Linked DNA regions of Homo sapiens: regions 1, 2 and 4 are each linked to region 3. The links are contacts of gene promoters, found by promoter capture Hi-C in blood cells and fetal thymus (Javierre and others, 2016). All regions are on one chromosome and are shown on one strand. The core of a region is centred on a gene start or on the middle of the fragment in contact, and the rest is flanking DNA. Distances in the headings are between cores, read along the strand shown.

Evidence for each region. Contacts are between HindIII fragments. The CHiCAGO score rates a contact against its expected background, and 5 or more counts as called.
Region 1: a contact is called between a fragment that was not itself captured here and the fragment with the promoter of ATP13A5 in region 3, in 1 of 17 cell types (naive B cells). The highest score is 5.0, in naive B cells.
Region 2: a fragment that was not itself captured here is called in contact with the fragment with the promoter of ATP13A5 in region 3 in 1 of 17 cell types (M1 macrophages); the score reaches 8.0 in M1 macrophages.
Region 4: a fragment that was not itself captured here is called in contact with the fragment with the promoter of ATP13A5 in region 3 in 1 of 17 cell types (M1 macrophages); the score reaches 5.2 in M1 macrophages.

The regions. Positions count from the first base shown.
Region 1 is chr3:192,453,055-192,455,754 of GRCh38, reverse strand. The region is part of intron 2 of FGF12 (fibroblast growth factor 12); the gene reads left to right. Among named protein-coding and RNA genes, the nearest start is that of FGF12-AS2, 61 kb to the left of the region's middle. The HindIII fragment of the contact is 7,026 bases long and covers 1-2,700 here.
Region 2 is chr3:192,777,090-192,779,789 of GRCh38, reverse strand. No RefSeq gene overlaps it. Among named protein-coding and RNA genes, the nearest start is that of FGF12, 51 kb to the right of the region's middle. The HindIII fragment of the contact is 956 bases long and covers 969-1,924 here.
Region 3 is chr3:193,377,389-193,380,088 of GRCh38, reverse strand. It overlaps ATP13A5 (ATPase 13A5), which reads left to right and starts at 1,336. Exons shown (of 30, transcript NM_198505.4): 1 at 1,336-1,426. The coding sequence starts at 1,364. The HindIII fragment of the contact is 6,128 bases long and covers 1-2,700 here.
Region 4 is chr3:192,654,174-192,656,873 of GRCh38, reverse strand. All of the region lies in intron 2 of FGF12 (fibroblast growth factor 12), which reads left to right. Among named protein-coding and RNA genes, the nearest start is that of FGF12, 72 kb to the left of the region's middle. The HindIII fragment of the contact is 2,815 bases long and covers 26-2,700 here.

The sequences.
Region 1 (2,700 bases), core at 30-2,529, 920 kb after region 3:
TATGATAGAAACTTAAAGCCATCTAAATATGCAGAAGCATGGTAAAGACTAAGTGCATTAGAGCAAATCATTGGAATATTATTCAGTTATTGATAATGTTATAAAAAGTTTATAACAACACGTATGTTTATATTTAGCATATAATGTTAAATAAAAAAGTTATAAAATGTTATCATTGCATCTAATCCCATAAACACAATAAACTGTGTAGAGATTAAAGAGATCCTGTGTGCAGAAGGGGCCAGCCCTGACCATCTCTCTGTCTAAATATATGATGTTATCATTTCTATTCTGCTGTAGGTACACCATGTTGATGCAGAGTTTCCTTGCAACTATTTCTCTTCCCAGAATTCCACATAAGATTTGGGTCCAAAGGCTTCTGTACTCTCAGTTTCTTCCTGATCAAGAGTTTCAATCTTCTTGTCATCACCCCATCTGAGTTGAGAACTAGAGTGACAGAGTCATCAGAAACCTAAGAGGCTCAGAGAGCTTTTGATCCTCTTCTTGTCCCCTCTCCGAAACAGTATTTCTCCTCCAAAGAGTTTCTATGTCTGCATTTTATGTGGTGGAAACTTTCTGTACATCATATTATTCTTCTTTCCAACTCTATAGGCTTTTAATTTTAGGAAGTAATTGCCCACTCTTTTCCAAGCAATAAGTCTTATGGCTTAGCTTTGATGTTAGAAGTTCAGTAAAAGTAAATTTCTCACCAGTAAGAGAAAATACATTGAGAATTGGGGGAGTTTTTTAAAAAAGTATTCTCCCCATTTGAAATTAATAATTAAAATAATTATTAGAGAAAGTGGAAATATTGTAAAAACTGAGATGTCCAAGCCCACAGACATCCAGAATAGATGTTGAGCCTTGTAATGTCCGTCTTATTGTTGAGCTCACAATTGATTGTCTGGTTATGTACCAGACATCTTCTGAATGTGTCACCTGGCCTGTTCTCTAGTGTGACACCTTTTTCTCCTCAGATCTGTAGTAATTAACAATCAGTATCATTTTAAATTTTTGGTGAAATTATCGCTAATGGTTTTGTGTCCTTTGTCATTTTCTAAAACTTTCTTTGCCGTGTGAAAAGGGCTGGAACTATGTAGTCTGAGAAGTATGCCTTTGACACCTTGCTGTGTTTCTCTCCTTGCACCATGTTTATCAGACTACAAGGTTTAAGCCCTTTTTAGGTTTATGAAGTAAGCCTTTTATTCCTGAATTTTTTTTTCTCCTTGTACTTTTCAATTATTTTTCCTTATTTTAGAAGTATCTCTCTTTTTGAGTGCATAACATTTCTAGACTGTATTTGTACCAGACACTCCCCATGTTCATTTTATTCTGCTGACGAAACAGGAAAATCTTTGTGTTTTTGATAAGGACTGTGGAAATAGAACATGCAGGCCTTTCTTGTTAAGAGAGATGTAGGCTGGCGCAGTGGCTCATGCCTGAAATCCCAGCACTTTGGGAGGCCGAGGTGGGTGGATCACGAGGTCAGGAGATTGAGACCATTCTGGCTAACACGGTGAGACCCCATCTCTACTAAAATACAAAAAAATTAACCAGGCATGGTGGCACGCACCTATAGTCCCAGCTACTCAGGAGGCTGAGGCAGGAGAATCGCTTGAACCTGGGAGGTGGAGGCTGCAGTGAGCCAAGATTGCGTCACTGCACTGCAGCCTGGGCGACAGAGCTAGACTCCATCTCAAAAAACAAAACAAAAAAAAAAGGAGAGAAATGTAGATATACATCTTTAACTTTTTGCCAAATTTTGATTAGAAAGGAAATAATAGACCAAAAGTATTGCATGGAGAGAAAGAAATATCTTTGGTCCTAAATATGTATTATTTACATAGATATTATACTTATTAAAAATACTTCAAGTTTATAGAGAAATAAAGTTTAAACCCAGATTAGTTAAATTTGATTTAAACAAATGGATTTTGCTAACTAACTGATCAAGGCAAAGATCAATATGAGCGTGAAATTGGGAGACTAATCCCATGGGTCTTCATGCTAGGAGAGCTGAGCCCAAGCCAAGCAAGAGACATCCCCTCATCCCCCAATAAAACAAGCAAAAGTGATCACAGATCAGTACTAAATCCTGACAAAAAAAATGCAAATATTCTCTGAAGGAAAGCAAACATAGTTAATCATTTTCTAATAATACCTTAAAGAATTAAAGTGTTTTTACTTCCATTTTGGAATTCAGTTCCCTAGGAGACAAATAGATCCTCAGAATGTAAAGATATTAGATAGAATCAGATATGACCTTGAAGTTAAATGTGACCAAACTCTCCAAATTTTTTTTTTAAAAAGGGGGGGGCATTCTTAATGACCCTTCAAGAACCAAGAACTTCATATATTAGAATGGTCAGTTTCAGAATAATACAGAGCTATGTATAAAATATTTTAAAAGTAAAATTTATAAGTTTAGATATAGAAGGAACAAAAGATTTTCAAATGTGATCAAATTAGTTTCCCAAAAGAATCAAATACAACTTTTAAAAGTGAAAGATATAATTGAAATTAAAAACCCAATAGATGGTTTGGAAGTATATCAGACACAGCTAAAAGAAAGAATAAATGAAAAGGGAGACATATATGAAGTGATTACCCAGGTCATAATAATGCAGAGAAGGAAGGTAGAAAATATGAAAGAAAAGTTAACTGATATGGAGGACACAATAAATATCTAAGCTAGATCCA
Region 2 (2,700 bases), core at 197-2,696, 600 kb after region 3:
GAACTATAAAATTATTTTAGACCTTTGAGATTATAGTCTTTAAGTGAGTGAGATAATACTTCCAAGAGTAAGCATATAGTTATGGGCAGATAATGAAAATACAGTTCCTATATAGTGTTTTCAGACAGTCTTTATTGTGAAATATGCCATTAAGTGAAATACATACAAATGTAAATATGCAGCTTCACGTTAACAAATTTTTGTAAATGTGAACACCCATTTAACCACCACTGAGGTCAAGAAACAGAACTTATCCAGCACCCTCAGCCCATCTATGCTTCTTCCCAATTCCAACCTTCTTTTCCCCTAATAAATATAACTGTGTCCAATTTTATGATAATCTCTTCTTTTTCTTTTCTTTATGTTTTTTCTGTAGCCCTCTGCATTTTTAGGTGATTAGTTTGACTGTGTTTTAACATTTTGTATAAATGGAATCATTTTTTCATGTTTGGTTTCTCTCACTCAATTTTATGTTTGTGAGATTCACCTATGGTGTTTCAGGAAGCAGTAGTTTGTTAACTTCCAATGCTGTCTGATATTCCACTATATAAACATGCCACTATTTATTTAACTATTTGCTGTTGATGGATATTTAACTCGTCCCCAGTATTTACTTATTAATAATACTATTGTGGATATTTTCATCCATGTCTCCTAGTACTCATACCTTCAAACCTTTTGGACATAAAACCAAAGTAGATTGTTACTTAAAAATGTTTCAAATATTTTCTCCCACTCTGTGACTTGCCTTTTCATTCTCTTTCATATTAAAATGAAATTAAGACCTCTGCTTATGTTTTGAAAAGCAGAGGTCTTAATTTTGTTTTAATATAAAGTATATCAATCTTTTCACACTGTTTATGTATCCCAGAACTTAAAGTAAAATAAAATAAATAAATAACAAATTAAAGAAATTTCTTCCTAACTTGATAGTTGAAGTCATTCTTCTATATTATCTTTTAAAAGCTTTATGATTTTTCTAATTCGAATTTATGTCTACAATCCATCTGGGGACATTAGGGTTGTTTCCAGCTTTGGGCTATTTTTGGCAGTATTTTATGGTTAGGAAGAATGCTGACATGCACATTTCGCACACTTTTTTGTTAGACATATGCAGTTGTTCCTTTTAGGTATATACCTAGAAATAGAATTTTTGACTCGGAGGATAGTAGATCATTCCAGGTATCTAAAGTGTTGTATCACTTTATACTTCCACCATGAATGTATGAGATTTCCAGTTGTCTCACATTCTTACCAACACATTGTGTTGATAGTTTTTTTTTTTTTTTTCTAATTTGTAGTCACTTTGGTGGGTACATACAGGTGTTTCATTATAGTTTTAAATTGCATTTTCTTTTTTTTTTGAAATGGAGTCTCACTCTGTCACCAGGCTGGTGTGCAGTGGTGCCATCTCAGCTCACTGCAATCTCCACCTACTGGGTTCAAGCGATTCTCCTGCCTCAGCCTCCTGAGTAGCTGGGACTACTCAGTCCTGAGACTGCTACTACATGGTGCACACCACCACGCCCAGCTCATTTTTGTATTTTTAGTAGAGATGGGATTTCAGCATGTTGGCCAGAATGGTCTCTATGTCTTGACCTCATGATCCACCTGCCTTGGCCTCCCAAAATGCTTGGATTACAGGCGTGAGCCACCACACCCGGTCTTAATTTGCATTTTCTAATAACCAATGGTGTTTAATAGATTGTCTTACACTTACTGGATATTTTTATATCTTTGTTGGTAAATTGCCTGTTCAAGTTATTGCCCATTTTTGAAATTGTGTTATTTTGTCTTTCTTTATTAATATGTAATTGTTCTCTATATATTTCGGAAACAAGTCCTTTATCTAAAATGTATTTTAAACATCTTTCTCTGCCTATTCTTTCTATCCTCTTAATGATGTATTTGATGAACAGAAGCTTTTAAAGTCCATAAGTTCTCGGCCAGACACAGTGGCTCATGCCTGTAATCTCAGCACTTTGGGAGGCCAAGGCGGCGGATCATGAGGTCAGGAGATCAAGACCATCCTGGCTAACACAGTGAAACCCCATCTCTTCTAAAAACACAAAAAGTTAGCCAGGTGTGGTGGCAGGTGCCTGTAGTCCCAGCTACTCAGGAGGCAAGCTAGTTACTTCCTAGATCAAAAGCAAGCTAGTTACTTCCTAGATACAATGGGGGTAGGAGAATGGCGTGCATTCGGGAGGTGGAGCTTGCAGTAAGCCGAGATCGTGCCACTGCACTCCAGCCTGGGCGACAGAGCGAGACTCCATCTCAAAAAAAAAAAAAAAAGGCCACAAGTTCTCTCGTCTTTTATGATAATTGTTACTTGTGTTCTGTTAAAATTTCTTTACCTGACAAATATGTCTTGAAATTATTCTCGTTTGTTTTTTCTAAAAGCTTTATTGTTTTACCTTTTACTATTTAGATTTATAATCTATCTTAAGTTAAATTTTTATTATAATCTACCTTAAATTAAATTTTTGTATGATGTGAGGTTTGGGATTAAGGTTGTTTTTCTTTTCTATATGGATGTCCAATTGACCTAGTACAATTTATTAAAAGATCATCTTATCCTCTCTGAATTGCTGAGGTACCTTTGTTAAAAACTAAATGACCACACACAAACATACACACAAACACACACACTCATGAACACTTTATTGTGTTTTATGTTTAATGTCTCTCTGCTTATGTCAA
Region 3 (2,700 bases), core at 87-2,586:
ATGGGTAAGAAGTGAATGATAGCCACCACTCGTGTCTTTAATGAAGTTTTACTAAAATCCAGAACTCCTTTCTTCAAATATGCATTTTACCTTAGATTGGTACTACTTACAAGGCAACATTCACACCGGCACATTATACTTCAGTATGGGTACCTCGGGAGCCTCTGGCATGAAGAGCTCTAGTTGTCTTCCTGTTTATTCTCATCAGCCACTTTCTCCTGGCCAGAGAGCACGTTGATCTCTCCTGAACACCAAGTTGGACACTTATGCCTGCTCAAGGCAATCAGTGTCTATTTCAGTCAGCAGAAACAGCCAAGTATCATCCCTAATAGTTTTCATTCCCAGCAAATTTTCTTCCATAGTCAAAGTGCAAGGATACAATAAGAGCCAATAAAATGACAAAAGTTTTCATCACAAACAAATTAACTGACTCTGGAATGGATCACAGTATACCTATTTTCTAATCAAAATATCAAATTCAGTGGTGTTGAAATTTGGGCTATATCCTTAATCCTCGGACTTTCTAGCATCTCTTCCCTCCACATACTTTGCTCATTTGAAAACTTTTGTAAACTCTAAAGAGAAAATGAAAAGAATCAAGTTATTAATATAGTTTACTTTTTAAAGCCTCTTTCTTCTTGGTTAGTGTAATGATTATGATGATGATTATTTCTCTCTTAGTGACTGTGGTGGGTGCTATCGTTGGCTTTTTATGACTATCATCTTAAATCTTTATATTACTGTATAGTTATTATTGACATTTTATGTACTAGAAACTGAAATTCCAGATTTTAAGTGATTTGTCCAGGGTCTTCAGTGAAGCACGGATTAGAACTCAGATTTTTCTAATTCCAAAATGATTCCTACATTCTCTATCATGAGCCTACCTCCCTTCCTTCAATTCTCATTGTCACCCCCAATATGTTCATTACTTTTTCAAAGTCTGCAGGGTTTTTATACATCTCTCACTGGCTAATCCTTTTATCTTAGGTTTTTAGCAAAGTGACTATTCTCATTCCTTGGCTGAGACATTTATGGATCGCATACAAAATGATTTCTCCTTCTAGTTTGCCAACTTCTTCCCCCGTCATTCCTCAGGTCTTGAGGCACTCATATCTAGCTCAATAAACAAACACTAGGAAAAAAACCCACAATAACCAGATTAACAGACCAATCCTGTTCCTGAGAAGATTTTCTCTCTTTCCTTTGTTAGTCTAATAGGCAAGGTGTGTACTAAGAGATTTTAAAAGCGCCTGGGAAGAGCAATCACAAGTTGTGACGATTCCAAGTTCACAGAAGCCCAAGGGATTTTGACATTTCTCCAAGGAGTTAGCCAGAAGAGATCCTCGCCGGTTGAGTTCAGATGGAAGAGAACAGTAAGAAGGACCATCGGGCTTTGCTCAACCAGGGAGAGGAGGATGAACTGGTGAGTCTTCCCTTTATTTTATTAGTCTTCTCAAAGAGCCCAAGGCGGTGAGTATGGGCTACAGCTGAATTAGAAAATAGAGTGTAGCATTTATGCTTCAGGCTTTAGGACCTTGAAAGGTTTCAGTCTGGTAAGGTTCCTTAAGGGCTGCAAAGCACCATTTTATTGTGGGGAAACCTGCAGGGGCTGAGAAACTTGTGACCTCTGGATGATAGAATTCTTGCCATCTTCATATGAACCTGTGATGTTTCCTCGCACATTTACAGTATTTGCAGAGCCCCGCATGGTGCTCAGTGGGGTGTCTCCCCCTTATTATCTGGATTGCTATGTGATGGAACAAACTCTATTGAAAACAAGAACTCTTTTTTATTCTCGTGCTTTGGGTATGTATGCATAACCTAGGCTTAGGGGGCTCTGGGCTGAAGTCATGCTTTTTATAAGCGCAGAGAGAAGTTTTAAGCATCAATTACTAAAGAAGGAGTAGAATGTGGCCTGGGATTTTTAACACATATTTTAAACATTTCTCATGTCTCCAATTTTTTCCCCACTCTTGTTTTCATCAAACACACACACACACACACACACACATTTAAAAATAATAATTAAAAAGTTGAAAACTATAGTGTTTATTTGGTGCTGAGGTGTTTATATTTATGATTTTATATAATCCTCAGACCTCAGTGATGAAAGAACTAATCCTATTTAATTGAAAAGAAATCTGAGACCAGGGAGGTTAAATAACTTGCCCAAGGTCATTAGCCTGCAAGGGACAGGCTGGGAATCCAGCCGACTCCTTCTCCACATCCTGTGCTGTTCACCATACAACAGTGGCTCCAGCTAGACAATGAAGAAAGGAGACAGAGACAGACAGGGGAAGGGTCAGAGTGAGGGCACATTTGGGGGCCCCAAAGAACTTGGAGAACATGGTTTGTAGATTAGAATGATGTCAGTTTCCTGGCTGGCATCCTGGTTCCCTGTGAGATCTGGGGCAAATCCATACCGGCTCTCCCTCCACCTATCCCTGTTTGCTACTCTAAGGAAAACATATGATTTCATCTACATCTATGTTGTTCAATAAGGCAGCCATGGGCCACGTGTAGTTTCTGAGCACTAGAAAAGTAGCTAGTCCACACAAAATATGCTTTATGTGTAAAATACGCACCAGATTTTGAAGAATTTAGTAAAAAAAAGTAAAACATCTTATTAATAATTTTTATATTGTTTACACATTGAAATGACAATATTTTAGATAGCTTAGGTAAAAATTTCACCTG
Region 4 (2,700 bases), core at 184-2,683, 720 kb after region 3:
TTGTGGCTATTATGCATTTCAAGCTTCCTGTGAACAAAAAATACATTGGAAGCCAGGTCGCGTCAAGGATTACAGACCACACATTACATTTTCATGAGCCTACACTGCTAGGTGTTTTCTTGTTGGGTACTCTGAAAAATATTACATGAACTAAAAGACTGTCAACATTGGAGAGAGTATGCCATAATCTTGAAGTAGCTGGCATTGTTACTGGATATGTATGGCTTAAGTCTTTGGTTTGGAGGTGGGAGGCTGTCCTGTGCATTGCAGGATGGTTGGTTAACAGCATCCCTGGCCTCTACCCACTGGATGCCAGTAGCACCCCTCCTCCCACCCCAGTTATAACAATCAGAGATATAGGCATTGCTCAATGTCCCTGGGGGCCAGATCACCCCGGCTGAGAACCACTGCACTAGAGAAACAAATGTGTAAATATGGAGCATGAAGTTTTAAATAGTGGTCACAAGTGAATGCTGAGTGTGTTTAAATTCTCATTCCTTTTGTGCTATGAGGCTTTGACTACATGTATCTGCTTTACTATAATTCTCTCTCTGTGTGTGTGTGTGTGTGTGTGTGTGTGTGTGTGTGTGTGTCTTTTCACCTTATAATTTAGGTGTTGTTTAGTGACAGTTAAAGGATACTAAGAAAGGATTGGGATGAAACAGTGTGTTTTATCCAGTATTTTGAGAGTAAGGCTTCCCAGGTGAGCTTCCGTCACTGATTTTTTGGATGGCTGTACATTAATTAACATACATTTATTGAGTGCATACCCTTCTAAAAAGTCCTGTGCTAGGTACTGCAAGGAAAAGAATTTTTTTTTTTTTTTTTTTTTTGCCTGAACCTCCTGGATGAGGGAATTTCTTTTCTGGCATGTAACGTTTCTTTTCTCGGCCCATGTGTCTGGAGTGCTAGTTATTCTTCCCCTCCAGTCCCAAACAGCTTCTTTTCCTATGGCTTCACTGACCTTTCGCTCTAAAATCCTCATGCTTGTGTTCACCTCTTCCCATTCCCCCATCTCTATTGCATCATTATGCGGGTTTGCAAACATCATCATCTTCTTTCTGGCATGACTCAGACTCCTGATAACGTTCATTTCTGGTTGCCTTATTTAGGGAAAATCATCTTCTTCTTCTAGGCCATATTAGCATGGGACACTCGTCCATCTATTACTCAGTAGCTCTTTAATTTCAAAATATAGTCCTAATCAAAATTTTCTAGCTCTTTATTTTACTTATATTTTGGGGGACTCATCAGTTATGATTAAATGGGTCAACTAGTAACAGAAATCTAAGTAATACTTGTAAACTAAATAGAATTAATTTTCCCTTGATGTAGAAGTCAAGAGGCTGGTATGGTGATGTTGTGATTTCATCAGCCTCTCAGTTTTTCTCAATCCTTCTATTCTGCGTTCCTATTCTGTAGCTTCCATCCTCAAGGTCAAGTCATGGTCTAAAGATGTCTGTCTGTCTATTGCAGCTCCAACCATCACATCTGAGTTTTAGAAATAGAGATGTAGAAAAAAAGAAAGGCCTGTCAATGGAATGCTTTCTGCTTCTCTGAAGTCCCTCTTAAAATTGTTTAAATTTTAACACCTATCTACAAGGGTGGCTAGGATATGTAGCTGGGCACATTGTTGCTATCAACAATACAGAGATTGTGTTAATAAGGAGGAAGTGAGAATAGATATTGGCCAGGCAGCAGATGTCTCTGCACACAGAGAATTTTGAGTGGAATTTATGTCATCGATGTTTTATACACCATATACAAAATAGGACTTTAAGAAGATGTTTCATAATCTATACAGCAAAATTTACTATATTAATATTGAGTTATTACTCCTAAAATTTGTTCCTTGTGCTCAAATACAGAATTGGAAGGATTCTTTATCATTGCTCCAAGGAATGAGGGGGAAAACTGTCACATTCCTCTGAAAAGTAAAAAATGTGGTCCATCAATCTAGTTGACTATTTTTTTTTTCACACTGATCTGTCAGAAGTGGCTGATTAGCTGTGGGTTTCTATACATAGCTAGCATTTATCAGAGAAATATCATGAGGACACTCTTTCTGTTGAATATACGAAAACCATAACCAGTTTCTACATGTAAGGGAAGGAGTGGTACACAGGTCTGTCAAACTGTGATGCAGGGTGGTGTGGGGAAAGGAACGGACTACGTTCAAGAAGCCTCTCTTCTGCTTCACGTTGAACATTTCTGACTCTGTCACTTTTCCTCAATCACTGTAAGCCTCTGCTTTTCATCTATAAAATGGGACTAATCCTTAACTCGGCTATCATTTGTTGTGTCCCTTCTTAAAGATACATTGAATGCCCATCTGTGGCAAGATACCAGAGTAGGACAGAGCTATTGTTATGCTTAAATAAAATATCTTGTAGAAAATCATATGTAAATTCAAAGTGCTATTGGGTTGCTGATATGGAGATTATTTATTTTTTTTATCATTTAGATCCAGATCAGATTTTAGCCATTCTTGGCAACAGATAAACTCTATTTCTCAAAAATTTCTAGTAGCAATCAATTATCTCAAAAAAATTCTGCTGTCCTGTGTGACACTGCAACTATGTATTACCCATTAATGCTAATTAGGAAGGACCTGGGAAGCACAGCCAGATAACCTATAGTTTATTCCCAGCCCTCCTACTTGGCCTCCAAACTTCCACAAAACACTAGCTTCCTTTGTGC